2 separate regions of the Homo sapiens genome follow, and region 1 is linked to region 2. The links are contacts of gene promoters, found by promoter capture Hi-C in blood cells and fetal thymus (Javierre and others, 2016). All regions are on one chromosome and are shown on one strand. The core of a region is centred on a gene start or on the middle of the fragment in contact, and the rest is flanking DNA. Distances in the headings are between cores, read along the strand shown. Region 1 has its middle 5.0 kb from the start of RAP2A. Region 2 holds the start of SLAIN1 (SLAIN motif family member 1).

Evidence for each region. Contacts are between HindIII fragments. The CHiCAGO score rates a contact against its expected background, and 5 or more counts as called.
Region 1: a contact is called between a fragment that was not itself captured here and the fragment with the promoter of SLAIN1 in region 2, in 5 of 17 cell types (total CD8 T cells, naive CD4 T cells, total CD4 T cells and 2 more). The highest score is 10.0, in total CD8 T cells.

The regions. Positions count from the first base shown.
Region 1 is chr13:97,427,291-97,431,003 of GRCh38, reverse strand. No RefSeq gene overlaps it. Among named protein-coding and RNA genes, the nearest start is that of RAP2A, 5.0 kb to the left of the region's middle. The HindIII fragment of the contact is 3,897 bases long and covers 1-3,226 here.
Region 2 is chr13:77,695,393-77,699,113 of GRCh38, reverse strand. SLAIN1 (SLAIN motif family member 1) reads right to left here and starts at 1,427. Exons shown (of 7, transcript NM_001242868.2): 1 at 575-1,427. The coding sequence starts at 1,200. It overlaps MIR3665 (microRNA 3665), which reads left to right and starts at 998; the gene lies at 998-1,102. RefSeq lists silencers at 360-509, 670-909, 1,110-1,669. The HindIII fragment of the contact is 5,751 bases long and covers 1-3,291 here.

The DNA.
Region 1 (3,713 bases), core at 29-2,528, about 20 Mb before region 2:
GAGATGATTATAGAAATAACTTATATCTTCATTTGTTTGTGGGAAATAAAAAATAAAAATGATATAAAAGAAATTTGAATTATTCCCAAGAGCTGTAAATCTGTAAGATAGTGAAAACTTAACGCAGTAACTGACACTGCAGGATCCCTTTAGTTTCCAAAGTGCATTGCCAGGAGAATAAAAAGAAAGAAAATCTTCATTTCTCCTCTCTCCACTAAATCTGAAAGGGAGTTATCTCACCTATAGCCAGATACCTTCAATTATCGCACTTGTGTTACCGTGGAAACCCAAGTCCATCCTTTCTTTCTGTAAAAGGTGTTGGAAAAGGTGGTATGAAGTGGGAAAGGTACTGTATTCTGGGACTTCCTGACACCAGCAAGAAGCAAATATGCAGATAATTTAATAGAAACAAATTAGTAGAGGATGTTTGTAATGCGAGGGGTACTTTTCGACTGTAAAACCCTGATTCCTAATGCTTCTTATTAAAGCCTGCATGCCTCTGATTAAACATAAAGGGGAAGGGCATGTCAAGTACATTTAGCACCTGTGAAACGCTGCTGGCAAGTATAAGGAGAGCAGACGATGGTTTCTTGACCTGTGAGGCTCCTAATACAGTTGAGAATCTGCAGTATATATGTGGAGTGGAAAGGAAGGGGCAAAATAAACTTTGTTCTTCCTTTAAAAAATGTGATATGTCTCAGTGCTTTTGAAAAGAAAAGGAATTAGAATGCAGAAATTAAGAGTATGGAAACAACTCAATAAAAGAAACGTATGGGTGGAGAGAGTAGATGTTTCAAAAGGCCATTTTAATCAGAAAAAAAATCTGAAAGAAAAGACGTAATGATTAAAATGTAGGCAGAAAAAAGAAAAAGCCTGAAGAATCTTAAGAGCTAGAGGATTCTGCGGAAAACAGAGCTTCAGTGTGGTTCATTTAACAAAGCAGAAGAGCAGGCACAGTGTTGCTTGCGTACCCAGCAGTTTCCCTTTATTTTTGCCAAAGAAGCTGGGATGAATCAGGATTGGACTTTAATAGCATTGCTTTCCCTCTGCCCACGGTTAGTCCAAAAGTAGGCACGTGACTCAGTTCTTGTCATTGGAATGGGGAGAAGGCTGCTAGGGCTGGAGGGATTTCTAGGATATTGACAAGAGTGAGGAAATATCCCCGTTTTCTGATGTCGCTCTCTTTGCTTCCTGCTTTACACATTGAAATATGAGAATGTGGCCTCCATTTGGGGGCTATGATGCATTATGACATTATGGTGCAATACTGTAGAAAGCCAGCAACTTCGGATGGCCAGGGAGGAGGATGGGAAGAACCTAGGTCCTGCATGACAACATTGGACAGTCAAACCAACATTAGAACTGCCCACATTTGGACTTATGGCTAAGTAAACAGCTGGTGTCTTTCAATTTAAGTGTGTGTTGGTAAGGTTTTCTGCATCTTACAGCAAAATACATCCCACCTGTTAACAAAAAGTATGAGGGATTCCAGCCAAAATCGGGCTTTAAAAAATCAGCAAGCATTTGTGAGCACTTTCATTTCACTAATATCTGAACGATAGTTCAAAGATACTATAATATTAATTGAGTAATTACTGTGTATATTTTTTAGGCTCTGGGGATAAAACAATAAGCAATTAGCCAAAAGAGCTTGTATTCTAGCAGGAGAGACAGATATTAAGCAACCAATTACATGTTTATATTATAAAATAATGGTTATGCTTAAAACTAATAAGGAAAAATCAGGAATTAGAAAGGGTATATAGTAATTATATAAATAATAAAATATTACAAAATATATAACTAAATAACTGAATGAAATTACAAAAACAAACACTTTCCAAGTAAATGAGAATGAAATGTATAGTTTTTACTGACATTCCCAGAGGTCGAGAGAAACAGTAAATTGGAGTAGGTTAGTCCAGGAGAGTTGTCTGAAGCAAATTAATATTGTATCAGGTTTTGAAGGAAGTGGCGAAAGGACAGGCTAGATGGGGCAGAAGAGAGCACTCTAGATGTAAGGAACCAGAAGAGCAAAGGAAGAAAGCAGGAATGAAGTAAGAGTGAATGAGGGAAATACCAGAATCACTTGATTTTTTAAATTCCCTGTAGCAACAGCATTCTAGGGGCATCTCTCAGAGAAAAAGACAGAAAGATGCCAGAAGTCTCAAAGCAAGATTATTTAAAGGTATAAAAATAATATAGGAGAAAAATACAGAAGACAAAGTAGGAGTACAAGAGTGCATTTGAAATTAAGGCGTCATTCAAAATAATGAATAATTTATAATGTGGGCGTCAAAAGAGTTGTCATAAGAAGTAATTATGGATTTAAGGGCATCAAGAAGGAGGGATTCAAACTTTCACAAATAGAAATAGAAGGAAACATGAGGAGTGGCAAAAAATGAAGACAGGTAGAAAAACAGTTTTTGCTTGTTATTTTTCCATGATAGCTGTTATTGACATGCATTATGTAGAAATGAATGGAATTTGTTTGAAAAGAAAAATTTCAATAGAGCAGTAATACATAAAGGTAGGCTTTTTGGTAAATAGTGTAATTTAAAATGTTTTCACTAGAATGCCTTTTTGTACCTTCCTGTAGGAAAATCTTTTCAACAAAAAAAGCTGTAAGTCATAATAAGTTACAGATTAGCAAAGCATTTTTGAAATAAAAAAAAACCCATAGATGTGCCAAATGTAATAGTAGAGCAACAATAATAAATATTTGTAATAAAAATCAGAACTTGTTAGGCATTATGTGGTTTCTGGTCAAATATGGTTGTACTAATTTTTCTAATGCTATTTTCTGTACAAATATAAGAATTTTTTAAATTAAGCTATGGTAGGTATATGAACACATCTTGATATTACTGGAGGTAGGATTTACCACTCACTTTTTGTGACCCCAAGTGTAACCCTGAACAGACTTCTGTCTTAACACCAATAACACATGATTGCACTGTCTTCTCCAGTGACTGGGGAAAGGGACAGTGCTTTGTTCATTTTTGCTTTACCAGCATTCAGCACATCGCCTAAAAACAATTGTGGGAATTCATAAAATGTTTGTAAATAAATGAGCAATTGAGTGGACTATAATGTTGCTTCTAAAAACCCTGGGTTTTGAACACAGAGAAGATGAGAATAAAAGGAAAGGAATAAGGATTTTCCCCAAATCAAGGTGAGGTTGATGTAAATGTCCTCCAAAGTTGGTCTAATCTCCAAAGAAGCTTGTATCTCAAAAACAGTAAGTCTCCAACAGGCAAAGTCAATGGCAGTTTGTAGACCTGGAATTTAGGAGTGCCAGGAAAGATCTGAAAAATCATGTCTTCTATCAACTGACTGTTGTCTGAAATTCTGCACTTAGGTTTTAGTCTTTTGATGTAAAAGTTATTTTTTTCCAATTAAAATGTAAGTAGGAGATATACAGTTAAATTGTACCATCAGTCTGTCAACTTCGGGGCATGCAACTATGCTTACCTGGATGAAAAAGAAAATGAAGAAAGTAAAATAGAAGAACGTAGTTTAAATTGGGGGATAAGTCATGGCATGAGTATGTGCCCAGAGCGAGTATAAGAAGGCCATGGAAATCCACTGTATTTTTGTCATACACTTATTAATTTGTTTCAATAAGGTTAATCACTCCACATGGTGTAACAAGAAAAATAACAGCCTTTACAATTACTAGATTCTTAAACTTATTTCAAATACTTTTTAAT
Region 2 (3,721 bases), core at 178-2,677:
TGAAAATGCAACGCAAAAGGGCACACGACTGCAAAATTCAAACAGCAAGAACGAACCTCTCTATAAAGAGAGATCCATCACTGCGCGGCTTCCGATGCCACCCGAGGAGGAAGAGCACGCAAATCCTGTCCAGCGTTCGTTTAAAACGAAAGAACAGTAACAGTCGCAGACAGAGGCCAACCCCTACCATCCCCCGTCATCCCTCCGAAAACACTGGGGAAAAGAGCAGCACTGAGCAAAAAGACAAGATGACATGGATTTTGCACTTAATGCTAACGAGGAGCTTGGGACCCAACAATCAGCAAATAGCAGAACCCATGGCAGATGGGGGGAAGGGGGGGCCGGTTCATCCGCAGTCGGAGCGATTAGAAAACAGGTTTCTGCCTTCATGAGAAGCCTCATCGTGGGAAGTGTCACCGCCTGGCTCAACACCTGCTGGGTCGGCCCCTCCGGGAGCCGCGGGGAGTCACCCCGGCTGCCGCGAGGGGACCCCCGTCCGCCCCCCGCCCCCGCTCCCCGGTGCCCGAAGCCCCCGAGGCCAGGGTCTCGGGGAAGGAGCGGAGCCAGGCAGTACCAGGTGTAGTCGTCCTCGTCCCGCCAGGCGGCTACGCTCTCCAGATCCAGCAATTCCACCTCGTCCAGCAGCGTGGGGGGCGGCGAGGGCGGCGCTGCAGCTGCCCCTGGCGGCGTCCCCGCGCCCCCCGGCTCCGGCCCGCCACCGCCCGCGCCGAAGAAGCCTGCTGCCGGCTTGAAGTAGACGAAGGGCGCCTCGGGTGGCTGCGCCAGGCTGCAAAGCAGGGAGGGCGCGGGGCTAGGCAGGCAGAAGGTGCCCGGGAACGCGGGGCTGGAGCCACCGCCGCTGCCACTACCGCTGCCGCCACCGCCCCCCGCGCCCAGCGCCAGCCCGAGCCCCAGGCCCCCTGAGGCCGCGGCGGTGGCCGTGGCGGCCGGGGGGCTCCGAGGACCCAAAGGCTGCAGGCCAGCGGGGGGCGGCGCGGCGGGCGGCGGCGGCGGCAGCAGCAGCAGGTGCGGGGCGGCGGCCGCGCTGGCCGCTCGACTCCGCAGCTGCTCGTTCTGCTTCTCCAGCTTGCGCACCAGCTCCTGCAGCTTCTTCACCTCCAGCTCCGCGTTCACCACCGGCCCGGAGCCCGCTCCAGAGCTGACCCCTGCCGAGGCGCATTTCACCTGCTCCGCCATCATCGTGGGCCCCGAGGGCGCCGCGGCCGCCGGGGAGTGCGCGCCGCCGCGCCGGCTCCTCGGGCCACGGGGAGGCTACGGCTCCTTCCCTGTCGCCCCGGCCTGGGGGGCCGACCACGCGCGGGCTGAGGCCGAGCCGGCGGTTCGCATCAGCACCGGGCCCTCGCCTCCGGCCGCGGCAGCCACCACCGAGCTGATCTGCACATGCTCAGTGCGTCCCTCCAGTCCCCTGGGCGTCGCGGCGGCTCCGGGTTTTAGCCGCGGCCCCGGAGCGGGGCGGGGCAAGAGCGCCGAGGGGGCGGGTGGGGGGGGGGGGGCGGAGAACCGTGGGGAAGCCCACCCAGGGGGCGGGGCCGGCAGCCCGGGTTGGGGCCGGGGAGCCGCACCCACCCTCGCTACCTAATCCCAGGGGCCTGATTGGACCTGGCCTGAACTTTCCCGCCACAAGCACCTCCTCCTGCCGCTTGGTGGGACAGTGAACTGCGCGGGTCTCTGAGGCGGTTGCGGGGACCAGGGGGTTCCCAAAGAAGCAGCTGCAGGTGCTGGCCCTCGAGTAGTGCACCACCGGCCCGCTGGTTTGCTCCCTTCCCAGCTCTCTGTTAGGCTCCGTGACAGCACTTAATAGCCACTGGCTAACGAATCCTATAGAAAACTTAAAGGCTGGGGATCGTTATTCTAAAAACCGAAAAGTGGAGATAGGGGGAACAGAAAGGCTTTGGGACCATGCCACTCATGTTCTCATTGGTAATAGAGAAGCAAAATGGTGGGAGACAGGAGACCGAGAAGAAAGAGAAGAAAGCCCTCTCTCTAAGAGGTAGAGTGGCCAGCTGCTAAGGAGACAAGTGTTTACTTATTTATTCTAAAATAGTCAAATTTGAACTGTTACCATCATTGTTTGTCACAATAAAAGAAGAACTGCTTTTTTTTTCATACTATGTATATTCATGCATTCCCCAAACAAAAGATCTTTGAGCACCTACTCTGTGCCAGGAACCATTCTAAGAGCTCGTGATGCGGGCAATGAGTACAATAGGCAAAAATGGTTATGGGGAGAAATATGAGTAAAATTGTTTAGTGCTCCTTCTATTAAATAATGTGTAAGTTATTAAAGTCAGACTTGCTGGTGGGAAAGCAGAAAACAGAAAACCTCAGAATTCTACCCAATACACTTTAATCTCACCTGCAAACCTGCTATTTCTTACCACTTGGAAAACGAGCAAATCTGCTTTTTTTAAAAGAGGCTTTTAAGCAGAAGAATTTAATCGAGTTGTGTTCAATGAATACTGACTGACTTAGCATTTTGAGTGTTTAACACAATCAGAGGAAAACCTGAGATTATATTATGAGAAAAATCTACACCACTGGTTCTCATCCTCAGATGATATACTATCTAGTGAAAGTCCTTGCTAGGGACTTTACATACCAATCTTTGTGACAATGTACCTCATTTCTCTGGAGCTGCTAACACATCGTATCTATTGGTTTCAGATATGGTTTTGTGTCTTCCTGCTCAGAAACACTTGTATCTTCTCAGTTGTTAATCTACATCTCTAGCTTCTGTGTGCAGGGTGGATGTTCTGCATTTAACATGCTTGGTGAGCGCTTCCATAAATTAGCTAAATGCGTGTGATGACTCCCTTAACCTTCCCTGTGTCCCAGCTTGCTAGCCCACCACCTAACCACCTGTATCACCCATCACCTTTCCAAGTTTCGGTATATCTTTAGGATTTTTTTTGGTTATTACCAAAACCTGGAGAAATGGAGTAATACTACTGAAAGTCCTAAGTAAAGAATCTATTGAAGGATTTTTCCCGCATGCTCAGTGGCAGATGCGGGTAGCAGTATCTCCCTGCAACACAAAGAAAGGGAGACGACAGACACAATGAGAACAAAGAGCTGCTGGGTCCCAGACTAGAGAAAGAAATTGGGAATAGGCACATAATAGTGAAGACAACAAGAATTAAGATGTAAAGAAAAGCCGTCATTTTACTGCACAATTTATATACACTCTAAAGAAGGAGAGAAACAGACAGCCCTTTCCTCCTTCATTTACCCAATATGGTCTATATACATCCAACAAGCAGTAGCCAAGCTTTTGAACCCTGTTTTCTAAGTAATAATTATCATAAAAATCTTTGTTCTTTAAAAAGAAAGCATGCATTGAAATTTAGACATAGAAAAGAGATGAAACATTGTTTTACAATTCTAGTCTGCATTATTCTTCTGAAAAGACAAATTTGCCCTTTTCCTACCTATTTTAAAAGTGTGAAATTATTAATGTCTAAAGAAAATTTAAATCATGTTTTTGCTTTCTCTTAATGCCCCTCTTTTTTTCCCTTCTGTGAATTGCACATGTACACACACCAGAGACACTCAAAATGCACACTGATTTCAAGTTGGTGTCCCCAGGATGCCAGTCTCTTTAACGTATAATTAAAGAGGTTGATGGTGTCAAGGTTTTAATTAAGCAGTCTTGATTTTTTTATTTTGATGCAAATTAGTAAGCTTTGTGTTTTGAAAGAAA